Regions from separate parts of the Homo sapiens genome. Here region 1 is linked to region 2. Evidence: promoter capture Hi-C in human tissues and cell types (Jung and others, 2019). All regions are on one chromosome and are shown on one strand. The core of a region is centred on a gene start or on the middle of the fragment in contact, and the rest is flanking DNA. Distances in the headings are between cores, read along the strand shown.

Region 1 (6,315 bases), core at 2,275-4,774, 760 kb after region 2:
CACAGCAGAAGAGCTTACTGTCCAGTAGTACATGATTACTAGACAACATGTAAGGGCAGGCTACCCTGAGGTTTCTTCTTCACTACAGATGCAGAGTGCAACTCCCCTTCCTCCCAGACTGGGGTTTGTGATGCATAAAGAATCTGAAGGAAGAGCCAGGATATTTGGTACATGTCTCCCAACCTTCTTTTCCATAACCATCACCATCCTAGTCCAGACCTTTATTGCCTGGAGAGTCAGAGGTGAGGATACAAGCAGAATTCTGCAGTGGAAAGGTTATATGGAGTGAGAAAGAAGTTCAGAACCTGACAAGGCCACTTACTGTGTATGTGATCTTGAACAGATCATTGAAATTCTGTCTTCTGATGATTAAATAAGCACCTACTGCAGTGCCTGGAACCTGATAAATGGTAGCTACTATTTTTGTTGTCATTCCTTTGAAAGGATTTTGGATCTACAATAAATGTAACTTCCCAGGCTGTTTTTTCCCCTACTCTTCCCCCATCTCCTGGGATTCTGAACAGTATCACCGGATTAATCATTTCCCCCTAACACAGGTTGGTCTGTGTCATCCTCCTATTCAGAAATATTCAGGCCTTTTTGCCTTCACGGTGAAATCTAGACCCTGGTGTGGTGGGTAGACCTCCCCAAACTTGCTCAGTGCACCCTTCCAACTACTTCTCCTGCTTCCCACTTCCCCAGTTCTGTGCTCCAGTCTGACTGGTTCACTGCCTTTTCCTAGCAGACCACAGGTTTCTTTGGACTCTGTCCCATCTGCTAGGGGACGTCCTCCCCTCCTCGCCAGTTAGTGACTGTTCTAGTCTTTAAGGCAGGATAAAGTTCTGTGTTTTCATTAAAGTGTTCCCTGTCCCTGTCAGTCCATGGTCATTTCCCCTGAGAACTCTGGCAGCAAGCTGAGGGTCTGTCACTCAAATGGCATTTATCCATGTGTATGTTATCTATTTTAATAGCAACATCTCTCTCTCTCTATGGCCTTTCTTTTCAGCTCCTCAAGGATAGGGACTTTGTCAATTATCTTTGTCTCCTGATGCTTGGTGAAAGTCCTGGCACATATTAAGTGCTAAATAAATGCATTAGAATAATACTTACAAGATACAACTACTTTTTAGAAGACCTAGCCAACTGCACAGTTTCTACAGGAAGAAACTATCAATCACCTAGGATTGTCTTATGTCCAGCCTGATAGCACAAGTGAATAGCATAGGAGTATTGAGAGGAGGATTAGATGAGAATGTAAAGACCTTGGAATAGTGTCTGGCACACAGTAAGCTCTCAATAAATGTTAGCAATTATTTTCACATATTAAACTAAATAGTTTCAAAGATAAGGTCAATTATTTCAAATTAAAACTGACCAACTAACCAATAAACCTTTTCATCAGAAGGTGACTTGAATCAGAAGACCTGGGCTTTGCTATGTACCACCTTTATGACTTGGGCAGCTCACTTAACTTTGCTTAGCCTCAGTTTCCTATTCTGTAAAATGTATATAATAATCCTTAACATCGATTTCTTGGGGTTATCATGGGGATCAAATAAGCTCATGTATAGTTAAAGTATAAAGCATTATACAAATAGAAAACATTATTTTCTATTAAAAGGTTGACTTGTAAAAACTAGTCTCTTCTGATGCTGTACAATTTATGTAGGTTTGATAAGGATCAAAAAAGAAATAATGATTTGGAAATATCTATTGAAATTAAAAATTTTAATTTTTATGGGTTATGTCCTTTGAGCCAAAATTCCACTTTATGGTATGTATTCTAAGATATACCTTAAATGTGCCAAATGATATATACACAAAGTTATTCATTGCAGCACTGTAATATGAAAAAACTGAAAACAACCCAAAAATCTACCGATGGGGGAAGGGTACATAAATTATGGCACATCCATGCAATGAAATAACATGTTGCTGTAAAAAAGAAATGATACTGCTCAGGTGTCTGAATCTGAAAAAAAAGAAATGAGAACATTTTTAATGAAGTGTTAGAGAAAGCTCTCCAAAGAAAAAAGTGAGATTCAGAACAATATGTATTATAGGCTACATTTTGGGTATAAAAGGGGGAAAAGGATCACCTGTATGTGTATTTACTTGTATATGTAAAAAGATGCTCTGAAAGGATATATAGACACAGAATGGTGGTTACCTTTGTAGGATGAGGTGGGAACTGATCAATGGAAAGGAGGTTTGTCCATGTGTGACTGTTTCCACCTTTTGCCTTTTGAACCATGTGAATATATTATGTATTTCAAAGAATTAAATGAGAACCCCATTAAACTTGATTTTGAAGACAAGAGTTGAAGATGTATATTTCATGCATATTTTTAGTGTGTGAACTGTTTATTTTTTAAAAAACATAGTCAAGCTTTTCTAGATGGTTCATAGTATAAGTGACATGCTCTTTTCCATGCCGTGTTATTTGCTTGGAAATCTGTGCTATGTATAGGAAACCATGTCCAGTTACATGTTCTTTTTAAAATCTAAGACTCCAGCCAGGCGCAGTGGCTCACGCCTGTAATCCCAGCACTTTGGGAGGCTGATGGGGGCGGATCATGAGGTCAGGAGATCGAGACCATCCTGGTCAACATGGTGAAACCCCGTCTCTACTAAAAATACAAAAAAATTAGCCAGGCATGGTCGCGGGCGCCTGTAGTCCCAGCTACTCGGGAGGCTGAGGCAGGAGTATGAACCTGGGCGTGAACCTGTGAGGCGGAACTTGCAGTGAGCCAAGATCGTGCCACTGCACTCCAGCCTGGGCGACAGAGCGAGACTCCGTCTCAAAACAAACAAACAAACAAAAAAACCCTAAGACTCCTCTATGAACATCCGGTCCATTTAGTGCTTCTGTGTGAGACTCAGAAGCTGAGGCTGAGCTCAGAGCAGACGAGAAGCCAATGGATAATGGCAATATTCCTGGAGACAACCTCGTCACACAGGGAAGTACATCCTCTTTTCAAAGAAGAGCTTTCTCTATGGCCTCAACAAGGGACTTCTTTAGGGATGAGCACAAGCTCCACTCTGGGGCTGGATCACTGATTCTCAGCTGATGCAAGGCAGGTTGGAATGTGTCACAGTTAAACACAGGCCGAGGTTAAATCTTGGCTTCCCTACTTGCTTGCCTACTGACCTTTAACAAATTGCTTAACATCTCTTAACCTTGTCTTCCTATCTAAAAATGGGCATAATAACAGCACCTGCCTAATATATTGGACTGCAAAAAGATTCATGGAAAGCACTTAGTAAAGTACTCGGGGTGGAGTAAAGGCTCTGTGTCCTTTGGTAAACTGGAGGGCTTTGCTACTCACCCTTATATCCTCTGTGCTTAGTAGAGTGCCTGGCACAAAATAGGCATTGGGTAAGTATCTGCAGAATTTACTTCTAGTTGATTCTTGCTGAAAGTAGTAACTGATGGTTAAGGTAAAGGCTGATGAGAACTTAGGATATGACCTGTCACAATATTACTCCTTTCTAAAAGATCCTGCAAGAAAAAGACCTTTTAAGCGAAGGCTGTAGTATAGAGGGATGGGCCCTTCCTGTGTCCCCGTACAGGAGATGTCCCTTCCTTCAGCCATCCGCAACACATGAGGCTGCCTGGGCCAGGCTTGGTGCAGAGTCCCTTTCTGTAGGCCCCGTAAGATCAAATCCCCCAAGTGACCCTGGGGATCATGTAGCCCTCCTTTATTTTAGAAATGAGGAAACTGAGGCCAGAAGAGAAGATCAGAACTCATGATCCCTAACTCCCAGACCAGTACTCTTCACTCCAAATGTCCAGTGACCACATTTGGAATAGGTGGGAATTTCAGAGGTTAGCCTTTTCTAGTAAAACAGGAGAAAAAAAAAGACAAAATATTCTTGGTAGAAGTCTAGTCTTATTAAACTACCTTTCTAAATCACAATTTAACAAGAATGCTTCAAGCTAAATAAAGGAAGCTCAAAATACTCCTTTTCACTGGATAATATAATTTTGCTTCAGCCACAATTTAAATTGATTTAGTTCTGAGCTCCAGCACTTGAAGTGTGGAACATATTGTATTTTCGCCATGATACTTGTTTTGACAGTGATGCATTTCAGTTGACATAGTTGAAATCCTTATGTAATAAATCTCTGCCTGAAAATTAATCATGTTTATAATATTCTGAGAATTAATAACACCCATTGCTCAAATCATTAACTTAAAAAAGGAGCTTCCAAAATCTGTTCTCGGCAGTAAGGGACCACAAATAAATGAATGTTTGATAAAATAATCCAAGTAGCAGTTTAACAAGCGTAAACTTGAATGTGGCTGCAATAACACAGAACTATTGTTTAAGGGTTGGCAGAGGCTGATGAGGTTCTTATTTCAGTTACGAAGCAGGCATCCACATGCATAATGAACTGCTCTCTGAATTATTAATGTGTTGCTTATTTAGCCTCATCTGTCTAGAAGATAATGTATCCTAACTCTAATGAGTGATTGGTTTTGTACATAATTACAGTAGCAGCAGTAGCAGGGAAATGTGTGCCTTCAAAGAAGGAGTTCTAAAAATAAAGTCATCACATAAACTCTGCTGTTGTTGCATTCTATCAAAATCAAACCCGAAGCATTTGAGAATTTATAATAAATTACAGGAGACAGAATCATTATTAACATCATAATTTAACACAAAAGGTTTTACTTAATCATTCATTACAGATCATGTGCTGCTAAAATGTGTATAAATGACTTGGGTTGTGTTAAGATGTTTGCAAAGATGTTCCCTTTTGGACACTCACCAACCATGGTATGGAGGGTCCAGAAAGAGCGAGGAAGAGTGAAAAACTGACAGAAAAGGGTAATGATTGATGCCGGTTTGGACAGAACATTAATTGAAAGTTAAAACACTGTTAGGCGATTCCTTTTCATTTCTAAAACACGCACGTCTGGGATTTATCAGGCCTTGTTTACACCTTCAAGTGGTTCTTTGTGGAGGTCAGTGAATCAGAAACCCATTCACCTGGTCTAAATGGGTCTGAGTGACAGTTCTCCCACCTGTTTCTGAGATGAGACAACAGCTCTTCTGAGAGCCCAGGAAGGTGTTTGCTTTCCTTCTATATAGCATATTATTAAAGAAAAGGGCCCACACTGGAAGCATTTTATAGGCATTAGTTTTGAATGCGCTCTCATTATCATTGTGGTTTCATCTGTGCATTTTCTTCTCCTTCAGTCTTCAAAGGGGGCTGTCAACTGCCTGATCATAAACTTGACGGCATCATAGTCTGTTCACACTTGTTCAGGAAGCTTCGATTTGCTTGTGAGTTGTACCGCGTGTGCATGTGCACATGCTTCTTTTTAAAAAAATCGCTGATCATATGTGTACACATGCACAGGAGGGTGTGTGCACAACCCAAGCATAGTGGCACAAGGGTGGGAACATCTGTATCTTTCTAAAATGAAAAGCCCTTTCAATTTATTCCTACACCAGAAAACCTGCATAGCTTTTCTCTAGTGATTTAAGAGGTATTGGCCTTATTGAAGATCATAATGCCTCCCTTTTGTGTGCATGCACTTCCTAAAAATGTTTAAGACTTGATCACAGGAGAATGTTGCCTATAGCTAGGAATGAAACCTATAGGCAACATGGGGAAAATGGAAGAGTGCTTCTCACTCAAAGCACAACTTCTGCTGATAGCCTTCTGAAGCAACATACTTCAAAGCTGCAATTGTCTTTGGAAGTCTTGTGCTGAATACCACTCTGCTTCCAGCTTTATTTTTATTTTTATTTTTTGAGACAGAGTCTCACTCTGTCAACTAGGCTGGAGTACAATGGCGCGATCATGACTCACTGCAGCCTCGACCTCCAGGGCTCAAGTGATCCTCCTGCCTCAGCCTTCCCAGTAGCTAGGATTATAGGCATGCACCACCATGCCCGGCTAATTTTTGTATTTTTGTAGAGACAGGGTTTTGCCATGTTGCCTAGGCTGGTCTAGAACTCCTAGGCTCAAATGATCTGCCCGCCTCGGCCTCCCAAAGTGCTGGGATTACAGGCGTGAGCCACCACACCTGACCCCCAGCTTCTTGCAGAAATGGCATAGACTTAGGTTCACTGGCCAGAAGGGCTCAAGTGTCACTGCTGTTTCTCCCTCTAGCACTGAACATAGGGTCTCTCAGGTCTCTTTGGTGAGGATGGAGGCCACAGGTGGAGATGGACCTGAAAGCCTCTTAGCAAGGTCCTGGGTCATAATTAAAAGAGGTCTGTTTCTCCTCTCCAGCTCAACTCTGCTTCTCTTCTTACTAAGGAAAGAGATCAAGGGGATTCTTGTGAGCAAGGTTC
Region 2 (7,207 bases), core at 1,296-3,795:
GGCAGGAGAATCACTTGAACCAGGGAGGCAGAGGTTGCAGCAAGCCGAGATCGTGCCATTGCACTCCAGCCTGGGCGACAGAGCAAGACTCCGTCTCAAAAAAAAAAAAAAATATCGGATACAGCTATAATTGAAAAGTAGTGGGAACCTCTACTAAAAGAAAAGTCAAAACCACCAAGATGCATAATACCAAAGGACCTTCTCAGCTGAAAGATTTCTTGATGCTGGCCACTGAAATTGCAGCTCAGAGAGCTGAGACTAGACTCCCTTCTGATGTGCAGGGCCCATGTTCTCAGATAATCACAAACAAGATCCTGCAAATGTGTACCCCTCAGCTTTACTCTATCCTCCTCCCCCAAATTTCCATGCAATTTAAAGAGCTAATGAAGATGGTGTTTTTAAAGTGTCCTGGTGGGATGGGAAAGAGAGGGGGCTGATAATCCCACCGGACAGGGAGAATTCTCATCTTGTTCATTCAGAAAGGCCCAGCCCCCTGCCAGGTTGGACTCCCCTCCCCTCAAGGGGTAGCAGCGGACTCCAGAAAAAAGGCAGATGTGTTTGTATTTAAGAGATTGGAGGATTAAATGAGCTAGAGAGGCTCCCTCCACACGGCCTCATCCTCTGATGGCTGGAAGCCCACCTCTGAGTGTTATTAAATCGATGATGACATCATGGGCACTGCATGCCCCTCCCTCTGGAGCCCAGCAGGCTTGCAAAGCCTGCAGAGGATAAGAAATTGGGGTCAGAGCGGGAAGCCTCAATCCTTCTTCTCTGGTGTATACCGAGATCGATGTGTAGATCAGATTCACCAGAATTAAATCTGGGGCCCCGTCTGAGTGCTGTCCTTGGCTGACCCTTGGGCACAGTACTTCAGCTCAGGGCCTAGGTTTTTCTCTGCTACAAAACAGAGACAATCACCTGTTCTCCTTACGACCTGGTGTGTGTGGATCAAATGAAACAAGGAAAGCTTTAAAGCAAATGTGTTCTTCAGGGGACCAGGGGCGGAGGGGGGGGATTGAGGTGTGGCCTGTGGGCTGCTAGAGCCCAGGATGGGGCTGATGGAAAATGACTCCCAGGCAGGCAGTCCTAGCCTCCCACAGCCAAGAAAGGACATGCAGGTTCTGACCAAAGGGGAAAGAAATAAATCCAATAAACATCTCCCAAGAAGAAAGACAGGAAAGAAAATAGAATGGAAATAGGCATAGCTCAGACCCCTCATGGTCTGGGAAGCAGACCAAGGATACTGGGCAGGGGAATGGCACATTGCATTTGCATCTGAGGCACATCCCTTCCAAGAGGCACATCCCTTCTGCAGCGGCTTGAGGGCTGGGTGAGAGGAGACAGGACTGGAGACCTGCACATGTCGTGTGCGCCTGGTGTAGCACGGGGGTGGTGGGGAGAATGGGAGTTGGTTGCAGTTGTTCTAGTTAGCGGCCTGGGCTGCTGACAGTGACCGTGGGGAGGAGAGAGTTTGTGACATTGACAGTGGTGTGGAAGGTAACCTTTCTGTGGAGGGAAACCTCAGGTCTCGAGACGGGCTATTGTAAATAACTTAGTCCACCAGTGCTGGGCTCTCTGCTAAGAGTTTCATATAGTCATCACAACTCCAATGTAGTAGATGCAATAGGCATCTTCTTGTTACAGATGAGTAAACTGAAGCTGTGAGGGGTTGAGCCATTTGCCCGCATCACAGCTAGTTCAAAGTGGTACCACTAATGAAGTCCTGGCAATCTGCCCTGCAGGCTGTTCTCAGGTTTGACCTTTGGTTCTGTTTTTCACTTGAGGATGCTGTCCCCTTAGGTTCTGTCTGTCTTGTATGCTCCGGTGACTCACGAGCCTGTCCACTGGGTTCCCAGGTCTCGCCTCAGCTTCAGACCACCGGTCCAACAGCCTTCCTGACCCACCTCAAGCTTAATGCGTTCAAAGATGAATCTTTATTTACACGAAATCTGCTCTAGCCCACTTCCCGGGGGGTGCCTCCACTATCCACCCAGGGGCAGAATCCGGCCACTGCCTGAACTCTTCTCCCCTCACCCCCCACATCCAGAGTCCCAGTCACCATACCTCTCACACGACTCTAGATGTCACCAACTCGCTCCTTCCCACTGTCACCGCCAGCCCCTCACTAGAACATCTGCAACCCACGTGCTGCACCACGCGGGTGCTACACGTGCAGGTCTCCAGTCCTGCCTCCTCTCCTCCACCCGTAAGAACAAGGGAAATCCCACAGAACCCTCTGCCCCGGGGAGCATTTAAATCAGCTTAGTCTATCTCCAGGTCGCTACCCCGCCCCAGCCCAACACCCAGGCCTCAGTCACCCTAGACAGAGATTCCCGTACCCAGGCAGGCAAGGGACCCTAACACATCCCAGCCCGCTGGTGGTCACGCGCGCAGCCCGGACAGGCCAGCAGCCCCCGCCCCGCGAGGACGCCACACTCGCAGCGCCCGGCCCTCCCCTAGCGGAGCCCGCCCCGTCTCCCTCCGCCCCGCCTCCCTCCGCTCCGCTCCGCTCCGCTCCGCCCCGCCCCGGGTCCGCAGCCCCGCCTGTTCCTCCCGAGGGCCGCGCGCTCTCGCCGGCCCGCCCCGAACCGCCCCGCGCTGGGAATTTGCGGCGGCCTCCGCCGGGGCAGCCGAGCTGAACCGGTCTCTTCCTCGGAAAGGCAGGGCCGAGGGGCCTGCGGGGCAGCCATGGAGGCGACGCGGAGGCGGCAGCACCTGGGAGCGACGGGCGGCCCAGGCGCGCAGCTGGGCGCCTCCTTCCTGCAGGCCAGGTGGGCGCGCGCCGGGGTGAGAGGGCGGGCTAGGCGCCTGTGCGCTGGGGCCTCGGGACCCGCCACGTGACGCTCCTAGGGCTGCCGGGCGGGAACCTCGTGTGCGGCGCTGGCCGGGGCGGAGCGGAGCGCGGGGGGCTTGGAGGCGCGCTACCGTGGCGGCGGTGCCCCCGCGTTTCCTTCTCTGTCTGGGGAGCCTGGGGCCCAGCGGGGCTCGGCCTCCCCGCTTCGCCGTTGCTCGGGTGGGAGGAGCGCCCGCCCGAAGTTTGGGGTTTTCCTCCCTTCCCGCGTTCCAGCGACCCGGGCTGGCGCCGGGACAGCCGCTGCGCTGGGAGAGCTCCCCAGGGCGGTGGGTACACACACCTCGTCACTCGGACCCCCAACTTATCCGCAAGTTCCGGGCGCCACCTCCGCGTTCTCGGGGTCCCTCCAGCCCTGAGTAGGACTTGATTCTGTCATTTATCAGGAGGCTGTCTGCTTGACCTGGGGCACCCAAGAATGTGCGAATGTAATGGAAGAGACAGCGGGGAAGGGCGGAAGCTGCCGTCCAGAGAATGAATGAGGAGCCCTTCTCAGTTTTTGGTTTATCTCGTTGGGCGAGCAGAGCTCCATTCTACCTTCGTCCCGTTTTACTGACCAGAAACATTCACTGCATTCAGCAGGCATTCTTTAAGCGCCTGTGGTATGCCCAGCGCTGTGCCAGGCAGTAAGGGGGTAGGCAGGGTGAAGGTGGGAGAGGCTTACGGTCCTGTAGGGATCAGGAGAGACAGAGCCCAAGTGGGAGTGAGCGGTCATCTTGGAGGGCTTCATGGAGGAAGTGGCACTTGAGCTGAGTCTCAGAGGACTTGGTAGGGGACCCAGGGAAGACAGGCTGTTCCATCCAGGGAAACAGTGGGGAAGGGCAAGGAGTTTAGTGGTGCTGGAGCTTTCCGGCTGTAAAAGAAAGTGACAGGAGGATGCAGACTGATTGTGAAGGGCCTTTAATTGCAGCAAGTCTAGGACTCGAGTTGAGGACCTAGATTGCAAAACTTAGGGGTAGGCGCACTGCCGTGACCGTGAGTGCCGCCTCAAATGTTGGGCCTTGGAGGCCTTGCTTGTCTCACCCTAGTTCCTGTCCTAGGTGACAGGTTAAGGACACAGTCTTTATCCCATAGGCACTGGGGAGTCGTGAGAAGTTTCTGAGCACTAGCATGCGCAAAGTCCTTGTTAGGAAGTTTTTGGTACGACCTGGATGAAGGGAGAAGTCTGAGCGCTTGGGCTGAGGTGAGGGATGGCTCGTTTCTGCTGCTGCGGACATGCGGGCTGAGCAGCTGCGGACTGTGTCCGTTTTCACTTAGAAACAATGTACTGGCCATAGACCGCATACTGTAGCTCACCTGTCTCCCTCGGCCTGTGAGTTAAGTATTATTTTACTGATGAGGAAATAGGCTTAGATGGGCTGAGGAGCCTGACTGGCTGAGTCCCCGGGCTGTCTGCCCCACGCCGTGTCCAGTGGTTTCATCTCTGCTGTGACCCAACCCATTTACCAGCTCCCCTCTTCCAGGCAGCCTCTTCTGCCTGCGGGATGTCTCTGTTCCGAATCCTTGCCAAGTTGGGGGTCACTGACTGCCCTGAACTGTGACAGCCCAATGGGAACAGCCTGTGGGTCTCAGATAGGGTCACCACTTTATCTCCTGTGTGGGGCTCCCATGTCTAGCATCTTACTCAGTCTTGACAATGAGCTGCCAGATGTCACTTCCAATGTACAGATGGGGAAATGGAGGCCCAAAGAGGTTACATCATTTGCTGGCAAGAACCAGGGCCTAAACCCAGGGTTTCTGACTTACGGGCTCTGCTCTTACGACTCCACTTTGGCTGCTAAGGAGTCATGTCCCTCTTCCCCTGTGTGAGCTCCCCACCAGCCAGGGTATTCCCAGGGGGGTGGTGTGAGGGTGGGAGCTCTCTGTCTCCCAGGGTGTCTCTGCCCCCCACAATGTGGCTTCAGCCCATTCCCAGTATCATTGCTGCTCAAGAGAGTAGGCAGAATCATCCTGTCCAGTTCCTAGGATGCTTGGATTTCCTCTGCTGCATCCGTGCTTTGCTCACTACCTCTTAAGGTAACCCATTCCAACGTCCACCTGCTTTGTTGCCAGTTTTTGTATTATAATGAAAGTGTTACAATTAGGCCGGGTGCCATGGCTCACGCCTGTAATCCCAGCACTTTGGGAGGCCAAGGTGGGTGGATCACTTGAGTCCAGGAGTTCGAGACCAGCCTGGCCAACATGGAGAATCCCCGTCTCTACTAAAAAATACAAAAATTATCCAGGTGTGATGGCCCATGCCTGTAATCCCAGCTACTCAGGAGGCTGAGGCACCAGGATCCCTTGAGCCTGGGAGGCGGAGGTTGTAGTGAGCCGAGATGGCGCCACTGCACTCCAGCCTGGATGACAGTGAGACTGTCTCAAAAAAAAAAAAAAGTAAAAAAAGAAAAGAAAAGAAAGTATTATAATTAGTGCCCGTGATAAATCAAATAGCAAAGGCTTCAAGTTTTAAAAAGTAGTAATCCCTGTCCCACTCTTCCCTAGCACCAGAGACAATCACCCTAGCTTCTTTTAGCTCTTTTTTCCAGAGTCAAATTCCTATTTCCAAATAATATGTTTATAACAATAAAAAACACTAGCACTTTTTATGGATCAGGCCCTGCTCTTAAGTTTTTGCATGTATTAATTAAACCACGACCCTTGAGATACGATCTACTGGCCAGGTGTGGTGGCTCATGCCTGTAATCCCAGCACTTTGGGAGGCCGAGATGGGCGGATCAGGAGGTCAGGAGTTCAAGACCAGCCTGACCAACATGGAGAAACCCTGTCTCTACTAAAAATACAAAAATTAGCCAGGCATGGTGTCATGCGCATGTAGTCCCAGCTACTCGGGAGGCTGAGGCAGGAGAATTACTTGAACTCAGGAGGCGGAGGTTGCGGTGGGCCAAGATCGCGCCATTATACTCCAGCCTGGGCAACAAGAGTGAGACTCCGTCTCAAAAAAGAAAAAAAAGGGATAGGATCTACTATTATCTCCATTTTACAAATGAGGACATTAAGGCCCAAGAAGTTAAGTGACTTGCTCAAGATCTGGTTAGTGGCAGAGCTGGGATATGAACCCAAACAGTCTCCAAAGTCCAGACTCTTTTTTTTTTTTTTTTTTGAGATGGAGTCTCACACTGTTACCCAGGCTGGAGTGCAGTGGCATGATCTCAGCTCACTGCAATCTCCGCCTCCCGGGTTCAAGCGATTCTCCTGCCTCAGCCTCCCAAGTAGCTGGGATTACAGGTGCTCGGCACCACGCCCAGCTAATTTTTTGTATTTTTAGTAGAGACGGCGTTTCACCATGTTGGCCAGGCTGGTCTCAAACTTCTGACTTTGTGATTCACCCGCCTCAGCCTCCCAAAGTGCTGGGATTACAGGCCTGAGCCACCGCGCCCAGCCAAGTCCACACTCTTAAAAACTACACTCAACTGCTATTTCTTGGTTTATTTTATTTTATTCTTTTTTTGAGATGGAGTTTCACTCTTGTCCCCTAGGCTAGAGTGCAGTGGTGCCATCTTGGCTCACTGCAACCTCCACCTCCAGAGTTCAAGCAATTCTGCCTCAGCCTCCCGAGTAGCTGGGATTACAGGTGCCCACCATCACGCCCATCTAATTTTTGTATTTTTAGTAGAGATGACGTTTCACCGTGTTGGCCAGGCTGGTCTCTAACTCCTGACCTCAGGTGATCCACCTGCCTTGGCCTCCCAAAGTACTGGGATTACAGGCATGAGCCACTGCGCCCAGCCTTTGATTCCTTTTAGAAAAAAGGAAAAATTTTAAAAATTAGCCATGTGTGACAGCACATGCCTTTCTGTGGTCCCAGCTACTCAGGAGGCTGAGATGGGAGGATTGCTTGAGCCTGGGAGGTCAAGGCTGCAATGAGCCATGACTGTGTCACTGCACTCCAGCCTGGGTGACAGAGCAAGACCTTGTCTCCAAAACTAAAATAAAAAGATGATATTAGTCCCCTACCCTAAACTTTAGCTTTCCTCACCCCTTCCTACAATTTCTGTCCTCTGTTTTCATGTTATCAAAGTAGACTATAATTATCTGCTGCTTTAAAACCGTAATTATCTTCCATGTTTTATCTGTGGATTGACTCTAAACATTGAAAATTAATATAAAATGTGTATGTTATTTAAGCCATGTATTTAATAAATATTGTTCCAACAGAGCCAAATAATGTTTAACAGTTACATTTGCTTTCTTATGTTACTTTTGTTTTTCTTGGAGTTTCTAGTTGCCTTTCTTTATTCTCTCATTATATTTGCCTTCATTTCCTTAGTTTTTTTTCTGTTCAAGCTTTTCATTGTCTTGTATGTCACCATTCTTTAAATAGAAGCAAAATTAGTCTCTCTGTGGTCCCCATTT

The links. The method cuts DNA at HindIII sites, captures the fragments that hold promoters and counts their contacts. A contact is called where the count stands out against the background at its distance.
Region 1: a contact is called between a fragment that was not itself captured here and the fragment with the promoter of CLN6 in region 2, in 1 of the 25 tissues and cell types used here (lymphoblastoid cells).

What each region holds. Positions count from the first base shown.
Region 1 is chr15:67,466,677-67,472,991 of GRCh38, reverse strand. The region is part of intron 17 of IQCH (IQ motif containing H); the gene reads right to left. IQCH-AS1 (IQCH antisense RNA 1) reads left to right here. Exons shown (of 6, transcript NR_040052.1): 3 at 6,281-6,315. Among named protein-coding and RNA genes, the nearest start is that of C15orf61, 51 kb to the left of the region's middle. The HindIII fragment of the contact is 6,457 bases long and covers 296-6,315 here.
Region 2 is chr15:68,225,066-68,232,272 of GRCh38, reverse strand. It overlaps CLN6 (CLN6 transmembrane ER protein), which reads left to right and starts at 2,545. Exons shown (of 7, transcript NM_017882.3): 1 at 2,545-2,771. The coding sequence starts at 2,689. RefSeq lists enhancers at 1,801-1,850, 3,081-3,160, 3,191-3,260 and silencers at 2,502-2,681, 2,451-3,040. The HindIII fragment of the contact is 6,678 bases long and covers 1,440-7,207 here.